Regions from separate parts of the Homo sapiens genome. Here all the other regions are linked to region 7. Evidence: promoter capture Hi-C in 16 types of primary human blood cells and fetal thymus (Javierre and others, 2016). All regions are on one chromosome and are shown on one strand. Each heading gives the region's core, a stretch centred on a gene start or on the middle of the fragment in contact. The rest is flanking DNA. Distances are from core to core; before and after follow the strand shown. Region 1 overlaps BRDT (bromodomain testis associated). Region 2 overlaps RPAP2 (RNA polymerase II associated protein 2). Region 3 holds the start of FNBP1L (formin binding protein 1 like). Region 4 overlaps GLMN (glomulin, FKBP associated protein). Region 5 overlaps BRDT (bromodomain testis associated). Region 6 holds the start of BTBD8 (BTB domain containing 8). Region 7 holds the start of RPL5 (ribosomal protein L5).

Evidence for each region. Contacts are between HindIII fragments. The CHiCAGO score rates a contact against its expected background, and 5 or more counts as called.
Region 1: a contact is called between a fragment that was not itself captured here and the fragment with the promoter of RPL5 in region 7, in 1 of 17 cell types (total CD4 T cells). The highest score is 5.5, in total CD4 T cells.
Region 2: a fragment that was not itself captured here is called in contact with the fragment with the promoter of RPL5 in region 7 in 13 of 17 cell types (M2 macrophages, naive B cells, megakaryocytes and 10 more); the score reaches 19.7 in M2 macrophages.
Region 3: a contact is called between the fragment with the promoter of FNBP1L here and the fragment with the promoter of RPL5 in region 7, in 2 of 17 cell types (total CD4 T cells and fetal thymus). The highest score is 9.3, in total CD4 T cells.
Region 4: a contact is called between a fragment that was not itself captured here and the fragment with the promoter of RPL5 in region 7, in 1 of 17 cell types (naive B cells). The highest score is 5.1, in naive B cells.
Region 5: a fragment that was not itself captured here is called in contact with the fragment with the promoter of RPL5 in region 7 in 14 of 17 cell types (naive CD8 T cells, activated CD4 T cells, naive B cells and 11 more); the score reaches 18.4 in naive CD8 T cells.
Region 6: the fragment with the promoter of BTBD8 here is called in contact with the fragment with the promoter of RPL5 in region 7 in 1 of 17 cell types (naive CD8 T cells); the score reaches 5.3 in naive CD8 T cells.

Annotation. Positions count from the first base shown.
Region 1 is chr1:91,982,121-91,984,820 of GRCh38, reverse strand. The region is part of intron 12 of BRDT (bromodomain testis associated); the gene reads right to left. Among named protein-coding and RNA genes, the nearest start is that of BRDT, 34 kb to the right of the region's middle. The HindIII fragment of the contact is 2,193 bases long and covers 262-2,454 here.
Region 2 is chr1:92,309,517-92,312,216 of GRCh38, reverse strand. All of the region lies in intron 6 of RPAP2 (RNA polymerase II associated protein 2), which reads right to left. It also overlaps a transcript of GLMN not described here. Among named protein-coding and RNA genes, the nearest start is that of RPAP2, 12 kb to the right of the region's middle. The HindIII fragment of the contact is 1,151 bases long and covers 709-1,859 here.
Region 3 is chr1:93,446,671-93,449,370 of GRCh38, reverse strand. FNBP1L (formin binding protein 1 like) reads right to left here and starts at 1,253. Exons shown (of 17, transcript NM_001164473.3): 1 at 1,066-1,253. The coding sequence starts at 1,089. RefSeq lists silencers at 1,096-1,145, 2,085-2,379 and an enhancer at 626-1,604. The HindIII fragment of the contact is 14,675 bases long and covers 1-2,700 here.
Region 4 is chr1:92,289,604-92,292,466 of GRCh38, reverse strand. It overlaps GLMN (glomulin, FKBP associated protein), which reads left to right. Exons shown (of 19, transcript NM_053274.3): 4 at 930-1,049; 5 at 2,161-2,269. Among named protein-coding and RNA genes, the nearest start is that of GLMN, 8.0 kb to the left of the region's middle. The HindIII fragment of the contact is 228 bases long and covers 1,138-1,365 here.
Region 5 is chr1:91,998,593-92,001,292 of GRCh38, reverse strand. All of the region lies in intron 15 of BRDT (bromodomain testis associated), which reads right to left. Among named protein-coding and RNA genes, the nearest start is that of EPHX4, 30 kb to the left of the region's middle. The HindIII fragment of the contact is 1,349 bases long and covers 701-2,049 here.
Region 6 is chr1:92,078,873-92,081,797 of GRCh38, reverse strand. BTBD8 (BTB domain containing 8) reads right to left here and starts at 1,453. Exons shown (of 18, transcript NM_001376131.1): 1 at 1,078-1,453. The coding sequence starts at 1,226. RefSeq lists an enhancer at 1-180. The HindIII fragment of the contact is 1,063 bases long and covers 840-1,902 here.
Region 7 is chr1:92,830,346-92,833,289 of GRCh38, reverse strand. It overlaps RPL5 (ribosomal protein L5), which reads right to left and starts at 1,250. Exons shown (of 8, transcript NM_000969.5): 1 at 1,173-1,250. The coding sequence starts at 1,175. It also overlaps a transcript of DIPK1A not described here. RefSeq lists enhancers at 172-809, 962-1,281, 810-1,448, 1,452-1,501. The HindIII fragment of the contact is 14,223 bases long and covers 706-2,944 here.

The sequences.
Region 1 (2,700 bases), core at 109-2,608, 850 kb after region 7:
TTTGTCAAAAAAAGTACAAAAATTAGCCCAGCGTGGTGGCACACACCTGTAGGCCCAGCTACTTGGCAGGCTGAGGCAGGAGGATGGCTTGAGCCCAGGAGGCAGAGGAGTGAGCCGTGATAGTGCCACTGCACTGTAGCCTGGGCGACAGAGCCAGACCCTGTCTCAAAAAAAATTTTTTTTAATTATTTTTTCATATTTATATTTTATTTTTCATATTCATATTTTCAGTCAATTTTTACTGATGTAGCAGATAAAGCTTTTGCTGATGTGCCTAATTTTCATAAATTAAATTTTCTTAGTAAATAGCCTCATTCTGCCCATGCTTGAAACTTTGACATAGAATTTGCCATCTGTTCCTTGAGAATGTTACTAGTATAATTAAGAATAGTAGGTGCTTTATTTTTATAGTAGATATTGCTAATGATATGATTTGACTTGCTTATTTTTCACAATTTTCAGGGCTTTTTTTTGTGTGTGTTGTTGTTCCCAGGGAAGTAAAAAATGTTCTTAGTTTACATGCTAGAAATTAAGAGCCTTTAAAATAACAGCTGCAACTGAAATTGATATTTAGAACATTAGAATATGTGGAGAAAGGCAAAAAAAAATTAGGACAAAAGGTCCAATTACTTCATTTAGTATTAAGCAAAGATATAATTTTTTCCCATTTGTCTTTGCATTTGCAATTTATAACATATATAAAGTGTTTTTCCAGTAAAGCACAGTTTGTTCATAAAACAATTAAAATTTCAAAAATAAACAACTAACATTATCAGAAGACAAATTGACCTTGTGTCACAAATTGTACACTATTTATAATGTAGGTTCAAATATAAAAACTTGCCACTTCAGGCTGGGCACAGTGGCTCACGCCACTTTGGGAGGCCAAGGAGGGAGAATTACTTGAGGTCAGGAGTTCAAGACCAGCCTGGACAACATGGTGAAACCCCATCTCTACTAAAAATACAAAAATGAGCTGGGTGTGGTGGCATCCACTTGTAATCCCAGCTACTTGGGAGACTGCGGTAGGAGGATCACTTGAACCCAGGAGGCGGAGGAGGCCACAATCACATCACTGCACTCCAGCCTGGGCGACAGAGTGAGAATCCGTCTCAAAAAAAAAAAACCAAAAAAACAAAAACTTGCTACTTTGATTTCAACATTATATATTTTAAAACTCCTTTTAATTGAAAAAGATGACATTAAACAAAAATGTCAGCCATAAAATAAAAATTCAACACAGCAATGTTTTAAGATTTGAATTCTAGGCCAGGCGTGGTGGCTAATGCCTGGCATCCCAGCACTTTGGGAGGCCGAGGTGGGTGGATCACAAGGTCAGGAGATCGAGACCATCCTGGCTAACACGGTGAAACCCCGTCTCTACTAAAAATACAAAAAATTAGCTGGGCGTGCCTGTAGTCCCAGCTACTTGGGAGGCTGAGGCAGGAGAACGGCGTGAACCCAGGAGGTGGAGCTTGCAGTGAGCTAAGATAGCGCCACTGCACTCCAGCCTGGGCAACAGAGGGAGACTCCGTCTCAAAAAAAAAAAAAAAAAAAGATTTGAATTCTGAGACTGAGTTATTCTGATAGAATGTTAGAAAAACAGAGAGTATATATTGCACTATTTTAAGAACACAAGTTAGTGATAAATATTCTTTCCTCCAAGCAATATATAATAATATTGTATCAGAAACTGATAATTCATATTAAAATTAAGGTACTTTATTGAAAACTCTGTATTATATTGTACTTTTCCTCTAACACTTGAAGCATTTATTATAATTAGATAATTCAAACTAACAGGAACAGTAAGACTTTTATCCTACAAATAAAAGACAAAGTGCTCTAACTTATTAGACCACAAATGCTTTATTAGATGAAGTTACAAATGCTAATTACAATTGAAAATACTAAATGCAACTTAAGTTATTCCAGTATTGTTCTATGCTTAGAAGTCAAATAAGGAAATACTATATAATCAGAGCCCTACATTTTTAAATTTTCTAGTATGACAAATCCCAAAGTAAAAATTCTGTTTATTCTCCAAAAATGTTTATCACTACATACTTTAGAAATGTAAAAACAAAATACAGCAATCAGCACCATATAAATGCAAACTAAACAGAACTAAGAGTTAAATAGAATGTATTGCAAGTCAGCAGACCATACTACCACACTGAAAAAAAGAGGGATGCTTTTAATAATGCTAAGAATTCCTGATGTCACAATATTCTGTGTGAGATGTTTCTTTAAAAAGAGAATTGAATTTCACAAGAAACACCTCATTTAAAATAAAGCAAAATTTAGGGACAACAGTGTCCAAATTCTGAATTTGCCTTTTGGTCAATAAAGATGGAACACCACTGCCAAGTCAGTATTCTTGGGGTAGTGATTACTTATCAACTGTGTAATCATTAATAGAAAAGCACAAAGAAAACATAAATGACCTAAGCTTGATACAACTGCTAAACTATACAAGATAATATGGCACTTGAGCATAGCTGAGAATCTGAATTTAAAGTACATTTTTCTATAGATGGAAGAAAATACTCTACAGTGAAGAAACCAAAGAAGTAGAAAAAAAAATCTGATTCACAGCTTCTGGGATGACTGGTTTAACTCAAAAGGATTATTCAATTCAGAACATAGTATCACAACATGGCAACCTTGCAACATTAGAGTGATCTGATAGATCATGGA
Region 2 (2,700 bases), core at 35-2,534, 520 kb after region 7:
GCTGGTCTCAAATGTCTTGTTTAAGTGATCCTCCTGCCTTGCCCCGCAACAATGCTGGGATTACAGGCATAAGTCACTGCTCCTGGCCGGACTCCAATTTTGAAAGATGTTCTGCTGTGGGTAAAATGCTATCAAACAGCATCTAATGCTACAGAGAAATCTTTAGTGAAAGGAAGTCGATCAGTGCAGCAAACCTGGGGTTGTCTTATTTCAACAAATTACCACAGCCATCCCAACCTATAGACACCACCACCCTGATCAGTTAGCAGCCATCCACATCAAAACAGGACCCTTCACCAGCAAAAAGATTAATACTTGCTGAAGGCTCAGATGATCAGTAGCATCTTTAAGCAATAAAATATTTTAAAATTAAGGTATGTACATTATTTTTTAAAGATATAACGCTACTGCACATTTAAAAGACTACAGTATAGTGGAAACATAACTTTTGCATACACTGGGAAACAAAATCCATGATTGCTTTATTGCTTTAGTATAGTGGTGGTCTGGAACCAAACCTGCAATATCTCCAAGATATGCCTGTACTTACTGGCTTTCACAATAATGTAAGAAAGACCAAATTAGGTCAAATTCAATATTCTGTTTCCAAATGGTGTGTAAGGTCATGGCATCCTCAGTGATGCCAAGTTCAAATTGTTCAGGACATGCTCTAAAACATGCCTGGTTTTTCTTCATAATTTAAAAGCTTTGATCTACATTTTATCAGCCTTCACTTTTACAGACTAAAGAGATCAAATTATTAAAGTCAGTAACTTTATTCAAAATTATTGAGACAGACCTTTCTACAAGGTAGTATAAGTTTCTCTAGTCTTAAGCAGATAATTTTAATTTTCATCATTTTAATAAATATTTCCTTATGTAGAAAACTTTCTCTATAGTAGCAATGACTAATGACACAATTGGCTTAGAACTGTAAATCATTAGAACCAAAGGGAACTCGGAAGTTGAATGCAACTTTTTCCTTTTACAAATGAGGAAACTGAGACTTAGTGTTGAGAAGCAGGTTTCCTACAGTAAAACAACCAAAAACGTGAGCTAAATCCAACAAAACAGCGCTCTTCAAACTGCAGATCAGGACCAATCAATTAAGTAGGTTGCTGCCAGCATTTTAAAAAAGCAACAGAGTAGAAAATATCAGAGGCATTTCATGTAGTAAGAATAATATTGTTTCACAGAAGTTTTGCTTTAGTTTTAGTTATATGCATATATGAGATAATGTAAAATGCACTTATTATAGTGGTCGAAAGTTTGGAAGTCATTTCAATAAGATATCTAATCTTTTGGGTGGATTTAACAATTTATTCTTAGTCTCGTTCTGTTGCCCAGGCTGGAGCGCAATGGTGTGATCTCGGCTCACTGCAACCTCTGCCTCCCAGGTTCAAGCGGTTCTTCTTACTCAGCCTCCCAAGTAGCTGGGGCTACAGGCATGTTCCAGCACTCCTGGCTAATTTTTATATTTTTAGTAGAGATAGGGTTTTGTCATGTTGGCCAGGCTGATCTTGAACTCCTGACCTCAGGTGATCCACCAGTCTCGGCCTCCCAAATGCTGGGATTACGGGCGTGAGTCACCACACCTGGCCATAAAAATTTATTATTATTTTAAAATTATGATTATTAAAATTACTATTATGATGCAATTTATTCTTTATCATGACTCATTGTAAGCTAATAAAAATATCTCTGCATTAAATACTACATGCCACCATTTAAAAGAAGCAATTTTTTCCTCCCTAAAGGAAGACTGACTCAGGATATTGTATCCCATGCCATATGTAAACAGACATTCTTTAAAATATCACATTTCTGTAGAGCTTAAATGTGCAATAGCTAGACAAGCTTTTAAAAATACAAAATTCTAGAATTCTGATCCTTGGCACAGGTAAAAAGATGTCTGAAAAAACAGTGACCTCTAGTGGATTCATTAAATAGCATGGACATAATCCCTGCCCCTAAGAATTTGGAAATTAAGGTAACACAAATGCATCCAGATATAAAAGATACTGATATGGTTATACACTGACAAGTGTTATATATAATTAAGGGCTACAGTTATGCTATACAATGAGGCAGATGCATATATATAGATTATTCACTGTTTCCTTCTAATCAAGTGGAATATAATAAATAGAATCCTGGTCTCATACGGATCACTAGTTTAAGAAATACACTTAATGAAGGGGTTGGATTAAATCTCTCTAAGGACCCTTTTAGCTCTTTTAATTATGATTCTTCTTTAATTCATTTTGTACACCAATATCAGAATAAATTCTGCTCAAAAACATTTGATGGCTCCCCAATACTTGAGGGTTTACCACACTCAGCCTGGCCCTTTGTTATTTACCTATTGTTATCTTCTCGTTTCCCAAATTTCAAGTGGGCCAATGTTCAATATCCCAACCCATTCCCACAAGTTTATTTTCTCACTTTTGCTCACAGTTTCTCATTATGCAATGTCCTAACCTTGCTAATTTATAGGACAGGTCCCCATTAAAGTCAACACAAACTTGTTTAATTCATGTTCTGGCATCCAGTGATTGTTAAATTCACAGGTTGGGTTTTATACTTGTATATGTGTATGTGTATGTGTATGTGTATGTGTATGTGTATGTGTATGTATATGTATATGTGTATGTGTATGTGTATGTGTATGTGTATGTGTGTAGCCTGCCAGGTACTAAG
Region 3 (2,700 bases), core at 4-2,503, 620 kb before region 7:
AAAGGGGAGTGGCTGAGGCCAGGCGGCTCTCGGGACAGCGCCCCCACGCCCCCAGTTCTCCCGGCCGCACCTGAGAAATCACTGCCCTCCGCACCTGAGAAATCACTGCCCTCCACACCTCGACCCTTCCGCGCCGGCGCCAGGAGCAAATTCTCCGACCTATTACCCTCCGCCCGTACCTTGGCCAGACACTGGGCATTGTCTGGAGCCTCCTGTGCCAAAGAAAGGCAAGGAGGAAAGGAAAGGAGAGAACGAAGGAGAAAGAACAAGTGAGAATAAAGAACGGAAAGGGAAGTAAAGCAACAGGGAGACCGTACGCTCCTTTTGGTAAAATTAGCTTCCTCATCGATCACTCGATTTAATTCAGCCCCCAAAACCAACCCACCAGCCCAAAGGCTGCAGCCGGGGGTGGCCAAACCGGAGTCCCTCGAAGCTGTGCCCGCCCGAAGCACTGAGGCAGGGAGAGAGAAATGTGCGTGTGGGCTGGGCCTGGCTGGCCCGAGGCCGGGCTCCGAACAAAGCCGCCTGGGTCCCCATACCTGGGGCGAGGGCTCTGGGCGGCGCCGCCCCAGACGGGCGACGCCCTAGCCCCGCGGACCTGGCCCGGGCGAGGAATCGCGGCCGGTCCCCTCCCCGCCCTCGAACAGCGCCCCTTGGGGACAATGGGCCCCCTCCCCCGCCTCCGGGAGGAGAGATACAAAGGAAGAGAGGAGCCGCCGGGCGCGAAGCCAGGCGTCGGGAAAAGTGAAGGTGGAGGAGGGAGAAGGAACAAGAGGGGATCACGGCGCACGCAGGAGCCCGCGGGCTGCTCCCCCGGCCGTCCCGGGCGCCGCCCGAGCTGCACCACGGCGGCAAAGGCGGGAGCACGGACTAGCGGCCCCCTAGACCCCCGGCCGAGAAGGGAAGAGGAGTCTGCACACAAAGACGAGCGGGACCCTCACCCTCCGCCAGCGCCGGACCGAGGACGGCGGAGCGCGCTTTCACCGCCGAGGGTCCGCGGCGCCCGCCCAACCCGCGCTTCTCAGGGGCCGGGGTCCGTGCGGGGCGCCCCTCTCCCCGACTCACCCACAGCTCCGTGCCCCAGCTCATGGCGGAACTTTCTGGCCGTCTGGCGGTGCCGCTGTCCTTCAGTCTGTCGGCTCCACAGTCTGTCCGACCTCTCACTCGCTGGCCGGCGGGCTAGCAGCTCAGCGGGTCTACCTCGAAAGGTGCCGCCACCGCCGGGCTCCCCAGTGAGTGAGAAAGACGCGACTGGAGAAGCCTCCGCCGCCGACGCGTCCCCGCCTCCCCGCGCTGGGCGGGAGGGGGCCGGGGCCGAGGGGAGGCGGAACGCGGCGCGGGGAGGGGGCGGGGCGCAGTGCATCCTGGGATCGGGGAGGACCTGGGCTAGCCTGGCCACCGCCGGCGGGGTCCCCAAGCGGGCACCTGGTCACCCTCGCTGGCCCCTCTCGCTGGTCGAGTCTCCTCCTGCAGGTACCCCGGAGCTTGGACTGCCCCCACTCCGCTGCCAGTCGGACCCCTGTTTCCAAGATAGAAAGGGAGAGAAGGGAAAAGACCCCCACCGCCGCTATTATCTCATTCCTCCTCTGCGCTGAGCCCCTTTACATGAGGCAATTTTAGTTACCTGCCTTTCCTGCCTCTTGTCTCCTCCACTCGGGAGAAACCTTGACAGGGAAGCGTCATCCAAATCCTAGAGTTTAGACTGAGGAGAGTTGTGTTTTATTTTTTTAAATCTTGATGCTTAAGGTGATCTCTCCTTTCAAGCCTGATGCTTTGGCATGACGATTCTTGGGAACCACCAAAATGTGCACAGGTTGAACAGCAAATGTGAAGGCAACATGTCCCCGATTCTGTCTTTAATTAAATATTTTAATTTTATAAATTCTGTCAGGAAATTATAAAAAGAGGCAGCTCTTCCAGTAATCATTTAGGTATGTTGCCAGCGCACGAGATGGAAGACGTGGACAAATGTGAGCCGAGCTGTCACCTGCGGAAGATGAGAAGGCAGCTTGCCCCATGTCTGGAATGGGCACCTCGTGGGTGAGGGTTGGATGGGAGCCAGATTTTTCTCTGGTAGTGTAAACAGCTTATTCGGAACTTCAGATCTCTTTCACCTCCCAGTATCGGAACCTTGGAGGCAGGTCCACTACTTCCTTTTTTCTCTATGGAGCTACTTCCTGGCCTATCTCCATGGAAAGGCTGTTAGCTAGTTTGGCTGGTGCTACTAGATATCAAGTACGCTGAGCAACTCCCTAACATATGCTTTAGTATTAATAGCTTGTCTCCTAAAGCAAGCAAGCGCACACACACACACTTCAAAACAGTCAACTAGTAGAGTACTCCTCAGTGCGTCATGACAGCTGGGTGTTTTAGGAAGCTCTCCCAACGGGTTCTTTGTCAGCATTGAAACTCCTCCCCTACCTGGCCTGGACAGGTGTTCCAACCTCTTCCGCTTAATCCGTATTCTTTTGCCTAGCTGCGCTCCCTCTTGGAGTTGAGGCCAACAGCCTGAGTTCGCCTGACAGTCCAGTTGCTAATCTTCCTAAATTCTCTGCTGTCCTTTTCTGAGGCCACTTTAAGCATACAAATGCCCTCTTCCAAGTGGGTTATAGCCAATTTTTAAATGCTTAACTTTGTACCATGCAGTGAAAAGCCTGTGAAGGATTGAACAACACTTTCTAACATTTTTCTACATTGCCT
Region 4 (2,863 bases), core at 2-2,501, 540 kb after region 7:
TGCACTCCAGCCTGGGCGACAGAGCGAGACTCAGTTTCAAAATAAATAAATAAATAAGAATGTATTTAACTTTAAAAAACAGAGACAGGGTCTCACTAGGTTGCCCAGGCTGGTCTCAAACTCCTGGGCTCAAGTGATCCTCCTGCCTCAGCCTCCTAAGGTGCTGGGATTAGAGACATGAGCCACTGCACCCAGCCAACCACCGTGCTTTTAAAGAAGGACTCTAGGAGGGTAGTGATCTTATCCAGTGTGTTCCTCACTTTATTTCTAACCTCTAGAATATTATAGTGTAGGCTTGGTAAATACTGATGAGTTAAAATACAAAGCAGGCCAGAGAAGTGGAATACATTGTTGATCCTTTGAGAATTAGTGGTTTTGATAATGAATGTGAATTAGTCATTATAAAGATAAACTTTTACTTGTATGGTAAGCATTCTGAAATATCTTTGAACATAGAAGCCACTTGTATGTAGGAGAGAAAATTAATGAAGTTGTATCCCTTCTTTTTTTTATAAATTACAAGGATTATATTTAGAGACTCCAAGAACTTTAAAAGGTACATGAGCATTGGCTGGATTTCTTTATGAATAAGGGGAGCAAAATTGTCTGTGGAAGTTAAGTACCTGTATTAAGCAAATTAACTCTTTTGTTGGAAATAGAGGCACTATTTAAATCTTGGGAAACACCAACTTGCCTGATAAAAAGTAAAGACCCTTTTGCCTTTCCTCAGGGAACATATTAAAAACTATTTAAAAATGTTGATGTCTGTTAGTAGCCAACCCTGGAAAGTCTCTGGTGAAATGTCATAGGCTTCACTTGTCTCATCTTCCTATTTCAGAAACAATTCTGAGCTCTTCCAAGATAGGAAAGCACACTGCGAGAGTCCTATAGATGGCAGTGTTTGCTTTACTCTGAAAATGTTTTTACAGGTCATCATCAAGAATATGGGCTGGAATCTCGTTGGTCCTGTTGTTCGATGCCTTTTGTGTAAAGATAAAGAGGATAGTAAAAGAAAAGTTTATTTTTTGATCTTTGATTTATTGGTAAAGGTAAGTTAACAAAACAAGGTTCTCTTTATCATAACACACAGCAGTATTTTATAATTCCCTTTAATGTTTATTGTTTGGTAAGAAAGCTTTTGGTTCATGAAAGTACATGCAGAAAGGAACTCGTTGGAGAAAAGACCCAGTCTTATTGATTGGATAGGCAATTCCATTTCAGGATTTCCCAAATTTTCTGGATAAAAGAATTGTCTAACCTCATATTAACCTCATATCGGACCCATTGATTCAGCATCTCCAGGGAGAGACCTGGGAAGCTATATCTTAACAAGTAGCCTTATCGTATAGATGTGGAATACAAGCTTTAGAGAGGTAGTTCAAGGTCACATTTATCTTTTGGCAACATTGGAACTAGATTAAAATCTCAGTCCTCTTTCCTTTGTGGTATGTTCCCTAAAAGAAAATGGAAGGCCTAGAATACAAGTGATTAAAATTGAAGTAGGAATAGGGTAGAATACAGATCAGTTGTGACTAACAACCTTAGAAAGCGACCCTGGGTAAAAGGCTAGTAGAGTTTACAGTCAATATTTGATGGCCAAGAAAGATAAATTCTGAGAAAAAGTATATTATAAGAAACTGTTTAGTGATCAGTGCAAATATACCCAAATATATATTGGAAGGAGAGCTCCATCTGTATGAGTTATTGACTATGGGAGCTGGGAGCTTTTAAAAAACCAGTCAAGTGAGATGATAAGATATGGCCAGTCAGAAAGCAATGCAAAGTTTTACCTGTTCAAAAAATACAAAAGAGATTCCAGACTAGTCTAAATAGGCTTGCAGCATGGGATTGAAAGGTCCCACCTGCTGGAGCCCCTGAGAATCTGTTAAGGCAATTTCAGAGTGGACAGGTGAAGCTCAAAGGAAACCTGAGCCTAAAGATCCATTGACTTCTTGCTTTTTAGTTTTATAGTTACTTGACCATCACAGATTCTGTGTTTTGCTCATGCATATTTTTTCAACAATTGTATAAATAATTTTAATGTTAAGCAAAAACATAATTGTATAATATTTTGTCGATACATGCCTTCTTAAAAATAGTAATAATGTGGCTTTAAATACAACTTGTATTAAACAGGTTCAATTGTGAATATTTTTATAGTTATGCAATCCAAAGGAATTATTGTTGGGTTTGCTTGAACTGATTGAAGAGCCCTCTGGAAAACAGATATCCCAAAGTATTCTTCTTTTGCTTCAGCCATTACAAACAGGTAATGAGAATTTTGATATCAGAGTACTTCTTGTTGTATCTCTAAATGCCTTGATGGTTACCTCAAAATGTCAATACTACACCAAAGTAAAGTTTACAGCTAATTAGTGAGTACTCTGCTTAAACCAATAATAGCAATGCCAATGTGAATACTGCTGCTCATAGAAAGATTATAGTATCTGGCCAGAGTGGGTACCCAGTAAATATTCTGTTGAATGTCATACTATTTTTCATGTGCTATATTGAAAACTATACCTTTTTGCCTAACCTTCCTATCTGCTGCTTAAATCTAGAATTTTCTCTCTAAACATGTTTCAAGGGTTACCTCTGTGGTGTCTGCAGTACTAAATCTGATAGCATTATGGTAGTCTGGAAGAGTATCAGGCAAGGCATTGCTCAGCCTCTGCTTTGGGAGGTTGGATTGGGCATAGCAAAGCTACTACTGAAGAATGAAACGAGGAGATATGGGATGATAAGGCTCCATGGCTGAGTGCAGTAACAGTATTGGTAGGTAATGGGTCTTAGCAACCAAGGCAGACAGTATCCATAGGAAGAGGTTATTTTTCATTTTAGGAAATTCGTTTATCTCACAATC
Region 5 (2,700 bases), core at 126-2,625, 830 kb after region 7:
ATACTATGTACTAAGCACTGGGAACGTAAGGATGACTAAAATGTAATAACTATCCTCAGGTATTACGCGCCCAGCCTAGAGGTGGGTTTTAATAAGGCCAAGCCAATCCTGGTAATTCTATCTCACCATCAGTAACTCATTTAGGAAGAGCAGACCTAAGCCAGTGCAGGGCTTCCAAGGGAAAGATGCTGCCTGGGTGGCCAATTGGAGACAAAAAAACACAGAGAGGGAAACTAAGATACCAGACACTCAAAATAGCTACCAAGGGAACAGGGATGTGAAACGCAGTAAGTCTGACTCTGAGGTGAGGAGAACAAACTATGCAATTTCATTAATTCTTAAGTTTTCATGCAAATATTTCATTTATTATTATTGTGAAGATTAACTACAGAGTGTGAGCCCTTATCAAGCCATGACTAAAAGATTGACCTATCTTTGGACTATTGCTTATGTATGCCAACAAAATTCCTTTATTAAATCAGTTTGGGCTGAGTTTTCTGTCATCTGCAACATGGAACATCCTGATGCGTGAAACTTAATTGATCACTTGATTCAATTCTCTCTAGTCATAGTCTACAGGTTCTAATTCGTGGCTGAAGAACAAGAGGGACAAATCAAAACTGAGCTGCTGTCTTTGTTAACTAACCCAAACTAACAAAATCCTGGCCACTTACATATTATAGGGACTTACATTTAAGCTTCTACCATCCATCAATCCCTTGACTGATTCTCTGGCTAAATCATACTGAGGTTGAGGTTAGAAGAAGAGAGCAAGGAACATCAAGGAATAGCAGTGAGCATAGGAGGGCAAGACAAAACACTGTCAAAGAATGCAGAACAAAAGCTCACATTTTTAATTTGTACGTCTGTACACAGCCTCAATGTAGCCATGTTTCCTCACTTCAACAAGGAAAGGGAAAAAATAGTGAGAAAAGCTGTAAGTATAGGACTGCCTTCCCTTCTCTGCTTCCTGTCAGTGATTATTTAGGAAGGAGAAAAAGTATGTATGGTAAGTGAAATTCTAAAGTGACCCTTAATTTGCTGACTCTAAGTTGGTAAGTGGTGATAGTGCCATTATTGACAATTAAAGAGGAAGGATTAAAATCTGGGGACCAGACTGGGTGCACTGGCTCAGGCCTGCAATCCCAGCACTTTGGGAGGCCAAGGCGGGAGGATTCCTTAAGCCCAGAAGTTTGAGACCAGCCATGGTGAGATCCCATCTCTACCAAACAAAACAAACAAATAACAACTTAGCTGGGCATGGTGGCACACATTTGTGGTCCCAGCTACTTGAGAGGCTGAGGTAGGAGGATGACTTGAGCCCAGGCGGTTGAGGCTGCAGTGAGCCATATTTGCGCCACTGTACTCCAGCCTGAGCAACACAGGCAGACTGTCTCAAAAAAATAAATACAATCTGAGGACTAAAAGGGGGAATTCAGTTTTTACATGGCTGTGTTTGGAATGCCTATGTGATGTTTAAGTAAAGACATTTAGTAGAGTTGTATAAACATGCCTGGGGCCTGGATACATTTGAATTGTAAAAATGAGACTAGAAGTCATGGATGCCAAAGATCACCCAAGTATAGAGCACTGCTTCCAACCTTTTCCATGTCATGATATATAGAAAATGATCAATGTATGGCCACCTGCATAAATGGAAAGGCTGCTCCCAGCTCATTGCTATAAGAGCTGAGGGGACATTCATTCAGTAAGACTGTGCTTTGAAACATGGTTGGGAAATTCTGGGGTAGATGAAAAAAACAGAGAGGCTTAAGGATGCAATTCAGAGAATTATCAACATCTAAAGGGAGGCAAATAAAGAGATATCTGTAAGGAACAGACAGATGGGATTGTTAAGAGAGGTGTCATAAAAGCCTAGGAAGTATGTCAAGGGTCCAACTCTCTGAAAAATATTTTTACATGAATGACCCTGTGATACCTCAAAAGACTACAAAACTCATCTTTCCTCAGAAGCCTATTCTTCATCTTGTGTCCCGGGTCTGTCAACCTGGACAGTATCCAGCCAGTATCCTGTGAGCCACCGAAGCTTATATCCCTGGGTTATTAACCCAGCATGTTTTCATATTTTGCAGACCTGCCCATTCTACTCTTGCAATTTCTTTTAACTTTCCCCTTCTCTTTCCTTCTATCACTTTATGTCATTTTTTCCCTACTACTGCAACAGCCCAGCTGGTCTCCTTCCCTTCTCTGGTCTCTATATTCTCCTTTCCTTCAACTCACCTAAATAATATTGGCAAATTAATCACTCAGAGGCACACCTTCACTCAAAAAAACCTTCATTGCCTCCCCACTGACTATGCTATTATAATTAAGTCCAAAGTATCTAAAGGGTTAAATGATCTAAACCTGGTCTACCTTTGTAATTTTCCACATTCCTGTTTAATCCAACCAAATCTTTAATCACATGGAATTATGAGTTGCCTAAATACCTTCACATTCATGTTGCTTCCTCCATCCAAATGCCTTTCCATACTAAATAAACATAGGTAAGCCTTATTTTTTTTCTGCACTATCCAGCTCAAATGATACTCATTCTGTAAAATATGTATCTGCCAAACACATCAGGTGATTCTGCCTTCTTCACCTCCTTAAACTTCACTTTAGGTTCTTTCAGGGCACATTATTTTTACTTTATATACCAGTTGTTTATTTCTCCTATGAGATAGCAAACTCCTGGAT
Region 6 (2,925 bases), core at 204-2,703, 750 kb after region 7:
GTTCGTGACTAGCCTGGCCAACATGATGAAATCCCGTCTCTACTAAAAATACAAAAATTAGCCGGGCGTGGTGGCGCGTGCCTGTAATCCCAGCTACTCGGGAGGTTGAGGCAGGAGAATGGCTTGAACCCGGGAGGTGGAGGTTGCAGTGAGCCGAGATCGCGCCACGGCGCTCCAGCCTGGGCGACAGAGCGAGACTCCGTCTCCAAAAAAAAAAAAGTAGAATGCTGCACAACTTTTAATTATTAGTAATTATGTTTACCTCAGTGGTTCTCATAGTCACCCTAGCCAGCAGCATTAGCATCACTTGGGGCCTTGTTAGAAATGGAAAATTTCAGTGATGCCCACCCAAGTTTAAGAATCAATGTCTTGCTGGAAATGTAAATTAGCTAGGTCATATTTCTAAGCTTCAATTTCTTTGTAAGCTGAAATTACTTTAGCTGGATTCCCAATAACCCGAGAAGGATATCCATGAGGCTTACAAAGGTTAAATGTCAGGAAGACCCTCCATTTGCTTTGGTCCTCACAGGAGCTGAGAGTTGCTGGGAGCTACAGAGAGCTCTAGGTGGAGAGAGGAATCCAGGTCGCAATCAGGAAGCATTTCTGGTAAATTGTTTAAAGAGACCTCAGAAGAGACCTCCAAGACTATAGTATTGTTCTTTCCTCATTTCAAATAATCGTTTTCCTAATTTTATTATTTTTCTTAAAATAGTATAAGCTTATTTTAAAAATTGTGTAAGTTTCAGGACCTGGATCCACCCGACCTTAGTGATTGGAAACAACTAAGCGTGCCTGTGTTGAGATATTTCTAGCAAACTAGTGCTGCACACGACTAAGCTTTTTTTGTTTTCCTTTTGAATCTGGTACATGGTGTCGAGGTGCTCGGGATTGTTTATTCAGGGCGAGCGAAGCCACTTTTCGGAATAGTGGGGAGACTGGCTAACGACCCGCAGTCGCCTGAGGCGAGGAGAACCAAGTGCTGAGGGAGGGGGAGGCAGAGCCGAAAGAAGCCTCAGCTTCGGGGCGGAGGTGGGCGATTTAGGAACTGAAGCAGCCAGAGTTCCCGCCTCCTCCTACCTGAGCAAATCCTGGCTGAGCTGCTCCGACACCGTCGCCTTCAGCCGGCGCCGCTCACACGGCCCCTTCCTTTGCAACCCCTTACTGCAAACTCCAGCGGACCCCAGAAGTACCATGGGGGCCGCACTGCCTTCCCCACAGCGAGCCATGTCTCACAGAGGTACGACGCCCTGGAGGCCCAGTACTTGGCCTCACTTGCCCCGCCCAGGAGGAAGAAGGGGGCGTTTCCGACCGAACGCTCGGCTCCTACCCAAATCCGCCCCCTAGGGTAAAAGGTTGACGCCTCTCGTCGGTTTGTAGACAGTCTCCCAGAGAAGCCGGACCGCGGTGGGGAGCCTCAGAATCCCAGAACCGAGCCGGCTCTTGACCCAGGAAGAGCGTGCGCAGGCGTACTCGCTCTGTTTACTTCTGCCGGCGGGCACCCCGCCTCCCATGGCTCAGGCGCGGACCATCCCGCGGGGCAAACCAATCCTCAGGCTCCTTATCCCCTCCCCTCTTCTTTCCCTTCCGGTTGGTGTTCATTCATTTCAATGTTTTACTGAGGCTCGAGTTCAAATCAGCACATGCAGCCTTTCTATGCTGTGTCTTCCTGACAGGTCTACACTTTTTTCCAACGAAAGACTGGGCGAGTCACACCCCCTCACTTACCTGGCTTCTTAACCCTGAGGTATAAATGTTTGGGGCAAGAAAAATTGGCGATGGGAGGAGTAGGGGAAGAACTTCATAAACTGCCAGTCAGAACAATTCTGAGTTCAATATAAGAGATACTTACAGCATCTAGAAGGCCCCATCCCCTTCTTATCCAAGGAGTGGCTCATACAAGCTTTTGGACTTGATCGGAGAAAGCACAGGGCTTTGCATATAAAGCCCTAACATTTATGACCAAGAAGGGAGAAATAGGTAAGGGGCAAAGTCTTTGAGCAGTGAAGTGATGGATGGATGAAATATAGAATTCTCTTTTGTCCCAAATAAAGTAGCAAACTGATTATCATTTAAGGTTTTGGTATTTTTTATTTGATTACTGCCTCCAAAATAAGGAAACTCAGTAGTTCCGCTTCGGGCCGGGCAAGTCCCATCTACTTGGGAAGCGAGGCGGAATGATGGCTTGAGCCCGGGAGGTCGAGGCTGCAGTGAGCCATGATTGCACCACTGCACTCCAGCCTGAACAGCACAGCAAGACCCTGTCTCAAAAAAAAAAAAAAAAAAAAAAATCTGTTTCATTCACAAACTCTACACACAAGGTGAAGAATAGTAATTGCTTGGAAAATACATTGGCCAGGTTGCGGTGGCTCACACCTGTAATCCCAGCACTTTGGGAAGCCAAGGCGGGAGGATCACTTGAGCCCAGGAATTAGAGACCAGCCTGGGCAACATAAGGAGACCCTGTCTCTACCAAACAAAAAAAAAAAAAAAGGAGGCGGGGAGGGGAATATATGGACTTTGTATTTGTACCATAAGATTGGCCAAGAGGTAACCATTTCTTCAGATAATGCCCCCTCTCAAATATTCAGACATCTTAATTCTGAAAAATATAACTGGATAATTGATTTTTTAAAATTAATTCCCAAATGCTTGGATGGATAATTGATTCTTAATTATTCCTGTAGAAACGAGGGGTGTCAAAGATAACATAATAGTAGCTTATATTTGAATCCTTATTATGTGATAAACGCTACTCTATTTGCTCTGTGTGTTTTAACTCAGTTAATCCTTACAACAACCATTTAGCTAGGTACTGTCTTCAGACCTATTTACAGATGAGGAAGCTGAGGCATACAAAGGATAGGTAAACTTGGCCAAGGTCACACAATGTCATATATCACACTATAATATATGGTGTGTTACACC
Region 7 (2,944 bases), core at 1-2,500:
GTAAACAGACAACTGTCACTTGTAGAATCCCAGGTTTCACAAGCAACTAGGGTCAAGAATCTTTTTCCTCTACCTTCCATGTCACAGACTAGTAGTTTCATAAAACAATAAAAATGAATCCTTAGAGAAATATGGAATAAAAGAAACATACAAAATGCAGGCCCCAATTTATTACATTTAACAGGTATAAAATTATTGTTATATTGCTTTCAAAAGGTTTTAAACGCTTTCAATTTCCATATTTGTTTCTTCAAGGACCAGCACCGGTAATTGTGCCAAACTTTTGCGAAGCACTGCTCCAGACAGCAATCAGTGATGCCAAACGTCGGTTTGTTCGGAACACGCTATGTCCCACTTCGAAAACCTAGCCTCAAATAACAACTACGTACCTCTCTCGCTTCCCATGTTATGTTTTTCAAAAGCCTAAATTACCTGCCACAAAGCTTAACTGGGCAAGAGCACATTCAGCAGTAATTCCCCCACTAAAACAGCACTGTTCCCCATCAGCTAAAGCAACATTTCATCCCACCCTTGGGGCCCTACCCCAATAATTAAAAACTCATCCGGCGACGGACTCTAGAGGAAGAGGCAGGAGGCACGTATTCCATGTTAAAGGAGCTTCCGGGGCCCAGGGACCCCTCGGCCTCCAAGCTCCACTGACAATTTTGGCTTAAAAGCCACTTGCTCAGCCCACGGGCACAAGCTTCCTAAATCTAAGACTTGCCGGCTCCGACATTCTCCTGGAAAACCCACGAAGTACTCGGTACTCGGAGGTCGAGTGGGACCCGAGGACCTGCAGCCCCCCTCCATTCTGGCGTTCCCCAGCTAGGCTGAGGTCGACTGCTTGCGACCTCTCACGCCCGGCCGCTTGCCAGCGCCCCCTCACACTAGACGGCAGTATCCGCACTCAGGCTGTCTACTAAACTCACCCTTCTCCCCAATCCGCCGTCCAAGCTCACGCAACCCTTCTTCGCCAACCCCTCCCCCCAAGTTCGCGCACCGGGCGGCAGCCATTTAAGGCCACGCTGGGAACTGCACCTCGACCAAGTCAGAGCTAGCAATCTAACGCCATCCGGCCCCTGCGACGCGCGAGACGGGCCCTAGGCTGGCATACGGGCAAGAAAAGGGAACCTCCATGCATCTAAAGCCCCGAGACCGAGGCATCCACTCACCATCCTGCGGAACAGAGACCGGCGTCCGCTGCTCGACAGAGACCTGCAGGCCCAGCGGCGCTAGGGGGTGGGAAAAGGGCCACAGCCCTTGCGCAGGCGCAGTATGTAGCGCGGACGGTCACGCCAGTGACGTGTGAAAGAGAGAGGGCGTCGGCCACAAGGCGTTTTACGTTCCGCCCCCTGCTGGAAGGAGGGTGAATGCCTGCCCAAGCTCTCCAGGTTCCAATGCTCGGGGTATCTCACAGGATCCGTGCGGTGAGGAGGAGCAGGGAGGATTACTGGAGCCTTTCGCTTTCTTTGCTACAGCGTTTTGTTTTGTTTTGTTTTGTTTTGTTTTGTTTTGTTTTGTTTTGTTTTGTTCATAACGCATTTTGCTTTTCTAAGCAGGAAAAAAAAAAAAAATTAAATAGGACAAGTTTGCTTGGGAGCCCTCTTGCCTTCTCTGGGCTACTCATTCTGGTCCAAGAGCATATGGACCCACCCTCCCATCTCACCCCCAGGAAGCCTTCCCTGAGAGCCCCAAGCCTGGGATAGGGGCCACTCCTCTGCCTTCCTACAGCAGCTTTCTACTGGCTTCAGCCCACCACAGACTGTCAACTTTTCGAGGTGGGCCCTGATGTCCACCTCTGACTCTCCAGCACCTAGCAGGGTATCAGCTGCTCACCGTTAGAGCTGGGAGAAGGGACGGCCAACCAGGATGACAGGGTTAAGTGACTCCAAAACACTGCCACTAGAATAAATCAGGATTAGGATGCCAATTACTTCTGATTCCAACTTGTAATTCCTTATATAATAGGAAAAATAAACAGAGTTCGCTATGGCCGATGTCAACAGAGCTCTAGAGGAGAAAACTTAAAACACTTTTCACAGGAAGTGTGATTCTACTTTTGTGGAGCCACCTTTGAAAGGGTAAAGAAAGAGGTATTCAATTCGTATTTATAGAAAATATTTAAAAACCTTCATTTTGGTGGATTATCAAGTTATTAGCCTACCAAAGGTGCTCCATGTCTTGGTCAGGCCCTGCTTACACTGGAGGCAAAAGCATCAGGAAGGAAAGTCTGCCTGGAAACAGGCCGACTCCTAACTTCTGCATGTTTTAGGGCAAGGGTTCATAGGAAGACCCACATACTATTCATCTGAATATTTAGAAGTTGTGGGCCGGGCACGGTAGCTCAGGCCAGGTGCGGTGGGTCACGCCTGTAATCCCAGCGCTTTGGGAGGCCGAGGCAGGCGGATCGCGAGGTCAAGAGATCGAGACCATCCTGGACAACATGGTGAAACCCCATCTCTGCTAAAAATACAAAAACCAGCCGGGCATGGTGGCACGCACCTGTAGTCCCAGCTACTCGGGAGACTGAGACAGGAGAATCGCTTGAACCCAGGAGGCAGAGGTTGCAGTGAGCCGAGATCACACCACTGCACTCCAGCCTGGCGACAGTGAGACTCCGTCTCAAAAAAAAAAAAAAAGAAAGAAGTCATGAAGCAGGCTGGATGTGCTGGCTCAGGCCTGTAATCCCAGCATTTTGGGAGGCCAAGGCAGGAGGATCACTTAAACCCAGGAGTTCGGGACCAGCCTGGGAGACTTGGTGAGCCCCTGTCTCTATAAAAAATAAAATCCAAAAAAAGAAGTTATGAAACAAACAACATGTTAAATTAAATATACTTTATCATCCTTATCCCTCTCCTTCTTACCTTATAAATCCATAACAAGAAAATTAAAAATATGTATACCTATTCCCCTTGGTCACAGTCAGGGGTCTGTGGCTAGCATG